3 separate regions of the Homo sapiens genome follow, and regions 2 and 3 are each linked to region 1. Evidence: promoter capture Hi-C in human tissues and cell types (Jung and others, 2019). All regions are on one chromosome and are shown on one strand. Each heading gives the region's core, a stretch centred on a gene start or on the middle of the fragment in contact. The rest is flanking DNA. Distances are from core to core; before and after follow the strand shown. Region 1 holds the start of SPINT3 (serine peptidase inhibitor, Kunitz type 3). Region 2 overlaps WFDC2 (WAP four-disulfide core domain 2). Region 3 holds the start of WFDC8 (WAP four-disulfide core domain 8).

The links. Contacts are between HindIII fragments. The study calls those that stand out against the background at their distance.
Region 2: a contact is called between a fragment that was not itself captured here and the fragment with the promoter of SPINT3 in region 1, in 3 of the 25 tissues and cell types used here (adrenal gland, heart right ventricle and liver).
Region 3: the fragment with the promoter of WFDC8 here is called in contact with the fragment with the promoter of SPINT3 in region 1 in 9 of the 25 tissues and cell types used here (adrenal gland, bladder, heart left ventricle and 6 more).

Annotation. Positions count from the first base shown.
Region 1 is chr20:45,514,028-45,517,394 of GRCh38, reverse strand. SPINT3 (serine peptidase inhibitor, Kunitz type 3) reads left to right here and starts at 1,773. Exons shown (of 2, transcript NM_006652.2): 1 at 1,773-1,862. The coding sequence starts at 1,787. All of the region lies in intron 1 of LOC107987282 (a long non-coding RNA gene), which reads right to left. The HindIII fragment of the contact is 13,872 bases long and covers 1-3,367 here.
Region 2 is chr20:45,475,182-45,478,631 of GRCh38, reverse strand. The region is part of intron 2 of WFDC2 (WAP four-disulfide core domain 2); the gene reads right to left. Among named protein-coding and RNA genes, the nearest start is that of WFDC2, 7.2 kb to the right of the region's middle. The HindIII fragment of the contact is 2,290 bases long and covers 850-3,139 here.
Region 3 is chr20:45,577,227-45,580,695 of GRCh38, reverse strand. WFDC8 (WAP four-disulfide core domain 8) reads left to right here and starts at 1,412. Exons shown (of 6, transcript NM_130896.3): 1 at 1,412-1,474. The coding sequence starts at 1,449. RefSeq lists an enhancer at 1,662-2,597. The HindIII fragment of the contact is 18,093 bases long and covers 1-3,469 here.

The sequences.
Region 1 (3,367 bases), core at 524-3,023:
AATGACTTGCCCAGGTCAAGAGTAGCTGGACTTAAATCAACCCAAGTGTCCGTCACTGGATGGATAAAGAAAATGTGGTATGTATACACAATGGAATACTACTCAGCCTTTAAAAAGAAGGAAATCCTACCATTTGTGACAACGTGGATGAACCTGCAGGTTACGTGAAATAAGCCAGGGACAGAAAGACAAATACCAGGTGATCTCACTTACATGTGGAATCTAAAAAAGTTGAAGTCACAGAAGCAGAGAGTAGAATGGTGGATACCCGGGGCTGGGGGTGGGAAGTATTGGGAAGGTGCTGGTCAAAGGGTACAAAATTTCAGTTAGACAGACGGAATAAGTTGTAAAGACCTATTGCACAGCATGGTGACCGTAGTTAATAACATATTGTACACTTGAAAATTGCTAAGAGAGAAAATTTCTCTCTCTCTCTATATATATATACACACATATATTTCAAAACATCATATTGTACCTCATAAATATATAATGTTTCTCAACTTATGATGAGATTATAGCCTAATAAACCTAGCCTAAGTTGAAGATATCAGAAGTTGAAATGCATTTAATACACCTAACCTACCAAACATCATAGCTTAGCCTTACCTACCTTAAACTTGCTCAGAACACTTATACTAGTCTACAGTTGGGCAAAATCATCTAACACAAAGCCCCTTTTATAATGAAGTGTTGAATATCTAATGTAATTTATTGAATACTGTTCTAAAAGTGAACACAGAATGGTTGTATGGGTATTCCAAGTACTGTTTTTACTGACTGTGCATTGTGTTTGCACCATCATAAAGTCAAACACTGTAAGTCAAACCATTGTAAATTGGGGACTGCCTTTATACAATTTTTATTTCTCAATTAAAAATAAATAATAATAAATATATGATAGAATGCTTCTTGAAAAAGAATAGCTGGACCCATCACAACCTCAAATTTTAAATCTGAGGCTCACTAAATCTCCCTAAAGCATGCTGGCTTTGTCTTTCAAAAAAAATGGATCTCTAGAGAGTCAAGGAAAGGAGACAGTTGGAATGTGCTGGATTCTGGGGGTGTGTCTCTAGAGACCATGACCCTCTGAAGCAAACAAAGCTGGGCCCTCCTTCTACATGGTGCTTTTGATATTTCTATTAAAATATAATGAATCTGCTCCTCCTCCAAGTAGGTGACTGTTTCTGACTTCCAATGTGTTTGTGTGTGTTGTTGCCATAATTTCCTGGGAGCACCCAGATGGGATGGAGGCAGCATCTAATACTTTGCCTGGTGCAGTGTGGGTACTTGATGAATGTTTGTTGAATGAATGAGTGATACGAGGGCACTGAAGCAGACAGACCGGGGTCTCAGTCTTGTCTCTGAAACTTGCTGTCCATGTAACAATGGTCAAAGTAGCATAACCTCCTCTCATCTACAAAATGGGAGTGTTAGTGTTGTGGGATTCCCGTGTAGACTTAAGGGAAGCAATGTGTGAAAACTATTTTGCATGGTGCCTGGAAAAGGAAAGGTACTCAAAAATGGCTGCTGTCTTTTTATTATTGTGAAAAAGGCTTCCACCCTGAAGTGGTACTAAAGTAGCCTGGGTGGCCAGATCAGATAAGGCCAGGAGGAGAGAGGTGAAGCTGTGCTTTGGCTGAACACTCTGTTCCTGAGGCAGCCCAGCCCCATGAAAAGCCTGAGTTAAAGGTGAATGAGCTGGATGTGGGGCCAGGCTCCTCCCCTTGGTCCCTTTTCTCCCTAAAATGGCAACCCCAGGCTGAGCCACTGGCTGAGTGGCACCATGCAGCTTCAGGCCTCTCTCTCGTTTCTCCTGATTCTCACTCTCTGCCTAGAGCTTCGATCAGAACTAGCACGAGGTTGGTATGAAATGTGGGATCTCAAAGAATAGACTGGGAATCAGGCTGGGGGGCGGGGTGGTGGGGGAGGTGATGCAGCACAAACAGAGCCCATTTCTTACCTTACCGGATTGAGAGTCAATTCAGTTCAATTCACTTCATCAGACATATGTTGGGCACATAGTTATGTGCCAGGCACTGTCCTAGGTGCTGAGGTTAAAGCAAAGAGCCTGAGACCCTGCCTTTGTGAAATTAAGATGCTAATGGGAGAGAGACATACAATACCTAATACAAATGATAGATGATCAAAGTGCTATAGAAAATGAAATAAGTAAAGCAGGAAAAGGGGCCTTCAATGTCTGGGGTGGGGCTGGTGGCAGGCAAGGAGAGGTTGGGAAAAGGAGATCAGAGCCAGAATTTGAGAGTGAGGGACTTAGCCAAGTTAGATGCACTTGTCAGAAAAGGCTCCTTCCTGGACCACTTTCTCTGTGGAAGCTTGGAATCTGCAAATGGAAGTGGGGAGATGAAGTGCAGTTATAGCTAAGATAATCTGCTGGAAATGGGGATGGTAGGCAGCAGTTTCCAAGATTTTTAAGCAGCCAGTAGGATGCCCTGTATAAAAATGCATATTAGAATACACAAAAGGGTAAGAAAGAAGGTGAAAAATTATCAAAATCTTACCCTCTGGAGATTATCACTGTCAATGTGCCAGTGAACATTCTTGCATGTGCAAGCATAGTTCTCTGCATGTATGTACATGGAGCTATTAATGATAGATTCTTAGACATAAATGGAACTCTAAACCTCCCAATAACCTTATAGATGAGTGGTTCTCGAGTTTGTCCCCTAGTCTGACAGCAATAGCAGCAGCAGTATCAACTGGAAACATGCTAGTTCCCAGTCCCACCTGATCAGAAACTGTGGAGGTGGGTCTCTCTAACAAGCCTTCTAGATGATTCTGACGCATACTCAAGTTTGAAAATGTCTGCCATAAGTAAGAAGAATGTAGTGGTTTACAGTATGAGCATTCCTGGAGTCAGACACACCTGGGTTCTGGTCCAGGCTCCTCTACTTACAAACTCTGTGCCTCAGGAACATCATTTATAGCCTCTCTGAGCATCAGTTTCTTCTTCTATAAAAAAAGATTAACCATCTTTTCTGCTTTATTAATCAAATAGTCTGATGTATGTCAAGCTCTCAGTATAACTTAGCTCTTAATAGATTCTTGTAAAGCACTTAGAACAGCTTCTGTCACACTCAAAACACACACACAGGGTGTCATTATCTACTTTACATAAAAAAGAAGCAAGTCAAGTGATTTTCCTTTGGTTTAATGGAATGGAAGAGCAGAGAAGCAAGACTGAGAAAACTAAGAGCAGATGGGACTCCAGCCCCTACAGAGTCACCTGTAAGGGTCTAAGGGCCGATGATGCAGTGACTAGGATGTCTTAAGAACATGCCCCTCCACCTCCCACCTGGATTGAATAAGCTATTCTGCCTCTTCCCCATTCTCCTGCACCCTTAGC
Region 2 (3,450 bases), core at 745-3,244, 39 kb after region 1:
GATTTAGGTTCAGCTTTCAAGATGGCCGAATAGTAACAGCTCCAGTCTGCAGCTCCCAGTGAATCAATGCAGAAGGCAGGTGATTTCTGCATTTTCAAATGAGGTACGTGGCTCATCTCATTGGGACTGGTTAGACAGTGGGTGCAGCCCACGGAGGGCGAGCAGAAGTAGGGTAGGGCATCATCTCACCTGGGAAGCACAAGAGGTCAGGGAACTCCCTCCCCTAGCCAAGGGAAGCCATGAGGGACTGTGCCGTGAGGAATAGTGCACTCTGGAGCAGATACTACACTTTTCCCACGGTCTTCACAACCCACAGACCAAGAGATTCCTTTGGGTGCCTACACCACCAGGGCCCTGGGTTTCAAGCACAAAACTAGGTGGCCATTTGGGCAGACACTGAGCTAGCTGCAGGATTTTTTTTTCATACCCCAGTGGTGCCTGGAATGCCAGTGAGACAGAACCATTCACGCCCCTGGAAAGGGGGCTGAAGCTAGGGAGACAAGTGGTCTAGCTCAGCGGATCCCACCCCCATGGAGCCCAGCAAGCTAACATCCACTGGCTTGAAATTCTCACTGCCAGCACAGCAGTCTGAAGTTGACCTGGAACTCTCAAGCTTGGTAGGGGGAGGGGCGTCCACCATTACTGAGGCTTGAGTAGGCAGTTTTCCCCTCACAGAGTAAACAAAGCCACCAGGAAGTTCAAACTGGGCAGAGCCCAACACAGCTCGGCAAAGCCGCTGTAGCCAGACTGCCTCTCTAGATTCCTCCTCTCTGGGCAGGGCATCTCTGAAAAAAAGGCAGCAGCCCTAGTCAGGGGCTTATAGGTAAAACTCCCATCTCCCTGGGACAGAGCACCTGGGGGAAGGGGCAGCTGTGGATGTGGCTTCAGCCTGCCTGCCGGTTCTGAAGAGAGCAGCAGATCTCCCAGCACAGCATTTGAGCTCTGCTAAGGGTCAGACTGCCTCCTCAAGTGAGTCCCTGATTTCCGTGTCTCCTGACTGGGAGACACCTTCCAGCAGGGGCTGACAGACACCTCATACAGGAGAGCTCTGGCTGGCATCTGGCGGGTGCCCCTCTGGGACAAAGCTTCTAGAGGAAGGAACAGGCAGCAATCTTTGCTGTTCTGCAGCCTCTGCTGGTGATAGCCAGGCAAACAGGGTCTGGAGTGGACCTCCAGCAAACGCCAACAGACCTGCAGCTGAGGGGCCTGATTGTTAGAAGGAAAACTAACAGAAAGGAATAGCATCAACATCAACAAAAAGGACGTCCACTCAGAAGGCCCATCCAAAGATCATCAACATCAAAGACCAAAGGTAGATAAATCCACGAAGATGGGGAGAAACCAGCACAAAAAGGCTGAAAATTCCAAAAACCAGAACACCTCTTCTCCAAAGGATCACAATTCCTCGCCAGCAAGGGAACAAAACTGGACGGAGAATGAGTTTGACAAATTGACAGAAGTAGGCTTCAGAAGGTGGGTAATAACAAACTCCTCCAAGCTAAAGGAGCATGTTCTAACCCCAATGCAAGAAAGGTAAGAACCTTGAAAAAAGGTTATAGGAATTGCTAACTAGATTAACCAGTTTAGAGAAGAACATAAATGACCTGATGGAGCTGAAAAACACAGCACGAGAACGTCATGAAGCCTATACAAGTATCAATAGCCGAATTGATCAAGCAGAAGAAGGATATCAGAGATTGAAGATCAATTTAATGAAATAAAGAATGAAGATGAGATTAGAGAAAAAATAATGAAAAGGAATGAATGAACAAAGCCTCCAAAAAATATGGGACTATGTGAAAAGACCAAACCTATGTTTGATTGATGTACCTGAAAGTGATGGGGAGAATGGAACCAAGTTGGAAAACACTGTTCAGGATATTATACAGGAGAACTTCCCCAACCTAGCAAGAAAGGCCAACATTCAAATTCAGGAAATACAGAGAACACCTCAAAGATACTCCTTGAGAAGAATAACCCCAAGACACATAATCATCAGATTCACCAAGGTTGAAATGAAGAAAAAAATGTTAAGGGCACCCAGAGAGAAAGGTTGGGTTACCCACTATGGGAGGCCCTTCAGACTAACTGCAGATCTCTCTGCAGAAACCCTGCAAACCAGAAGACAGTGGGGGCCAATATTCAATATTCTTAAAGAATTTTCAACCCAGAATTTCATATCCAGCCAAAGTAAGCTTCATACATGAAGGAGAAATAAAATCCTTTATAGACAAACAAATGCTGAGGGATTTTTCTCATCAACAGGCCTGCCTTACAAGGTCTCCTGAAAGGAGCACTAAACATAGAAAGGAACAACTGGAATCAGCAACTGCAAAAACATACCAAATTGTAAAGACCATCGACACTATGAAGAAACTGCATCAACTAATAGACAAAATAACCAGCTAGCATCATAATGACAGGATCAAACTCACACATAACAATATTAACCTTAAATGTAAACAGGCTAAATGCCCCAGTTAAAAGACAAAGACTGGCAAATTGGATAAAGAGTCAAGACCCATTGGTGTGCTGTATTCAGGAGACCCATCTCAAGTGCAAAGACACATAGGCTCAAAATAAAGGGATAGAGGAATATTTACCAAGCAAATGGAAAGCAAAAAAAAATCAGGGGTTGCAATTCTATTCTCTGATAAAACAGACTTTAAACCAACAAAGATCAAAAGAGACAAAGAAGGGCATTACACAATGGTAAAGGGATCAATGCAACAAGAAGAGCTAATTATGCTAAATATATATGCACCTAATACAGGAGCACCCTGATTCATAAAGCAAGTTCTTAGAGACCTACAAAGAGACTTAGACTCCGACATAATAATAGTGGGAAACTTTAACCCCCACTGTCAATATTAGACAGATCAATGAGACGGAAAATTAACAAAGATATCCAAGACTTGAACTCAGCTCTGGACCAAGCAGACCTAATAGACATCTACAGAACTCTCCACCCCAAATCAACAGAATATACATTCTCCTCAGCACCACATCACACTTATTCTAAAACTGACCACATAATTGGAAGTAAAACACTAATTAGCAAATGCAAAAGAACGGAAATCCTAACAGTCTCTCAGACCACAGTGCCATCAAATTAGAATTCAGGATTAAGAAACTCACTCAAGACCGCATAACCTTACATGGAAACTGAACAACCTGCTCCTGAATGACTACTAGGTAAATAACAAAATCAAGGCAGAAATAAATAAGTTCTTTGAAACCAATGAGAACAAAGACATAACATACCAGAATCTCTGAGACACAGCTAAAGCAGTGCTTAGAAGGAAATTTATAGCACTAAATGCCCACAAGGGAAAGCAGGAAAGATCCAAAATTGACACCCTAACATCACAATTAAAAGAACTAGAAAAGCAAGAACAAACAAATTCAAAAGCTAGCAGAAGACAAGAAATAACTAAGATCAGAGAGAAC
Region 3 (3,469 bases), core at 163-2,662, 64 kb before region 1:
GCCAAGTGGTTAATAAAGATCTAAAAAGGTGCTCAACCTCATTAGTAGTCAAGAAATTTAAATTAAGTCCACAGTGATGTATTTCCATACTCGTAGCAGGATGGTAAAAATGAAAAGATTGTGACAGTTCTACATACAGCATGGTTATGGAACAATAGGAACTCTCAACTACCAATGGCAAGGCTGTGAATTGGTACAAACTCTTTGGGAAATAATTTGGTATCAGCTTGAGAAGCTGAAGATATGCATACCCTGTAACCCATCATTCCCTATGCTGAATGTATAACCTACAAGAACACCTGCCCACGTGCTCCAGCAAATGCACACAGAGTGTTCATAGCAGCTTTATTCTTTTTTTTACATGAGTAAATTGTTTAAAATTTTTTTGACATTTAAAAACATTTATTAATTCATTTAACGTAATAAACTTATTACATGTTGATATAAATAACATTTTTATTTAGAAAATCCTAGTTTTTTATTATACTTTAAGTTCTGGGATACACGTGCAGAACGTTATTACATACATGCTATGTATACACACAGCAGCTTTATTCTTAACAGCTGCAAACTATAAACAACTCAGTAGAGATGTGTGTAGTCATACAATAGATGGCATGGCAATGAAAATTGACAAAATACAGCTACACAAAACAATGTGGATGGAATTCATTAATATAATGTTGAACACAAAAAGCCAGGCACAAAAGAATACATTCCAAGTGACTCCATTGATATAGAACAGAAGCAGACAAAAACAAAAACATATTTAGGGGAATACATATGATCTTGAAAATATGAAAAAGAAAGTCACTACCATTAGCTGCCTTTGAGAGCATAGGAAGGGGTTGTGACTGGAAAAGAATGAAAAAGGAGCAGAAAGTGTTGGAAATTTTTTACTTGATTTCAGTGATAGTTTAATGAGTGGTCACTTCGTAATAGTTCGTTAGACTGAACATTAATGTTTCATGCATATTTTTATTTTTGTGGTGTTTTTCACAATACATATTTTTACAAAAAGGAAAAGTAGCTCTTCCTTGTTTTGTCTCCTTTTCTTTACTAACTGAACTAGTCAGTCCTAAAGCCATTAGATAGGCACATTTAGCAAGGTAGGCGTTTGCCCCAAGGGGAAGGGAGCCACGGCTGGCTCCGTGTGGGCATCAGAGCTGGAACAGGTCAAGGAGGGTGTCTCTGTAGGAGGGCTGCTGGCCTGGTGTGCTGGAGCCAGGGGTAGATGAGAATGCCCAGTGAAGAGGCAAGAAGCAGCATAGCATGGAGACCAGCCTGCCCATGTTGAGAAAGGCATCCCCCTGGGGCTAGAGGGGCAGACTGGCATAGAATGAGAGCCTGAGTGGGGTGAGCAGAGTGTCCAGGCAGGGGAGCAGATGAGGGAGGAGCCTTAGAGCTGGAGCAAAGTGAGGAAGCTGTCTCCATAGGGAAGAGGCCTGATGTGGACTGTCCGAACTGAAGGAGGGTGAGGAGGGTGTCTATGGGGGTGGGTAGCCAGACATGGAGGGTCTGAGCCCAAGGAGATGAGGAGGATACATAGAAGTTAGAGTGGTCGGCTGTGGGGAGTTGGGCCAAGCATAGTGAGGAGGGGTTCCACAGAACAGAGCTGTCTTGTGTCAGGAATCAGAGCCTAAGCAGGGTGAAGAGGGCATCAATGCATCCAGCGATTCTCCTGCCTTAGCCTCCCTAGTAGCTGGGACTACAGGTGTGCGCCACCACGCTCGGCTAAGTTTTGCATTTTTAGTAGAGACGGGGTTTCACCATGTTGGCCAGGCTGGTCTCGAATGCAACCTGATATGGCTGTTGGAGCCCAAGTAGGGTAAGTTGGGCATCTTTGAGTGGCCCAGTGTGGAGGGGCAGAGCCTGAGCAAGGTAAAGTTTGATATTTTAAATTAAACAAGCATATAATATGTATCTAAACATTTTCAAAAAATTAAAACAGGAGTAGTAGTGATGGGTTATATTATTATTCACAACTATTCATTCCATCTTTCCTTTAAGAGGACACTCCTGTCCATTACCTTGCAATTTTAGAACGGCCCGTGGAAGGAAGACACATTTCTGTCTCATTGACTTTGGGTTTGCTGTCAGCTGTGCTTTGCCTATTGGAGTATGAGCAGATGTAGCATATGCATAGTGAGTTTTGCACTGTGAGTTTCTGCCAGCTCCTTTGTGCTTTCTCTCTGCCAGGAGAAGGGGCCTAATCCACATAGAGGCTGCTTCTTTTGTCTTGGTCCCACAGCCTCAAGTAGAGCCCCCACTTGGAACAAAGCAGTAGACAATTTGCCTAGGAAGTCTTTTGTTGTGGCAAGCCATGGAGAGCTCAAAGTTCTTTGTACACCAAAGTAATAAAAATACAGTTGATTCCCATTACTTGGGGGTAGTTATGTTCTGTAAAGTCACTGTGAACACCGGATTAGCAAATACTGAGCCATTGCTCCTAGGGAAAATGCAAGCCTCTGACCACACATTTTCATCATTTGATCAATACATAACCTTGTTTTTATATGTGCTTCTGTCTGAAGACACATGACAGAGATGGTAATTAGAAGGTGCACACAGAAGACTTCTGGGAAGCTGGCTACTTTCTATTTTTTAATCTGTGTGGTTAATTATTAAATAAAACTCTACATACTTTATTTATTTATTTATTTTTATTTTTATTTTTTTTGTTTTGTTTGAGAGGGAATCTCTCTCTGTCCCCCAGGCTGGAGCATAGTGGTGTGATCTCGGCTCTCTGCAACCTCCACCTTCTGGGTTCAAGGGATCCTCCTGCCTTAGCCTCCTGAGTAGCTGGGACTACAGGTGTGCACCACCACTCCAGGCTAATTTTTGTATTTTTAGTAGAGACAGGGTTTCACCGTGTTGGCCAGGCTAGTCTTGAACTCCTGACCACAGGTGATCTGCCTGCCTCAGCCTCCCAAAGTGCTGGGATTACAGGCATGAGCCACCGTGCTGGCCCTGTCTTTATTTTTTAAACATGTATATAGGCCAGGCGCGGTGGCTCATGCCTGTAATCCCAGCACTTTGGGAGGCTGAGGCAGGCGGATCACTAGGTCAGGAGATTGAGACCATCCTGGCCAACACAGTGAAACCTCATCTCTACTAAAAATACAAAAAATTAGCAGGACGTGGTGGTGGGTGCCTGTAATCCCAGCTACTCGGGAGTCTGAGGCAGGAGAATCACTTGAACCCAGAAGGCGGAGGTTGCAGCGAGCCGAGATCGCACTACTGTACTCTAGCCTGGCGACAGAGTGAGACTCCATCTCAAAAAAAAAAAAAGACACCTTATGTAATATATATTATTGTTTCATTAACATTGAATTGTGGCTGAAAGCCCTGTAACTCATGCCTGAACCAAGCTTATCTGACACAAGTAATTTCTTTGTAAGGCACATTGCAGGCCTCTTGCTCTTAGGACACTTGACAGCACTTTAGTAATTCTTGGCAGCCATTTTAA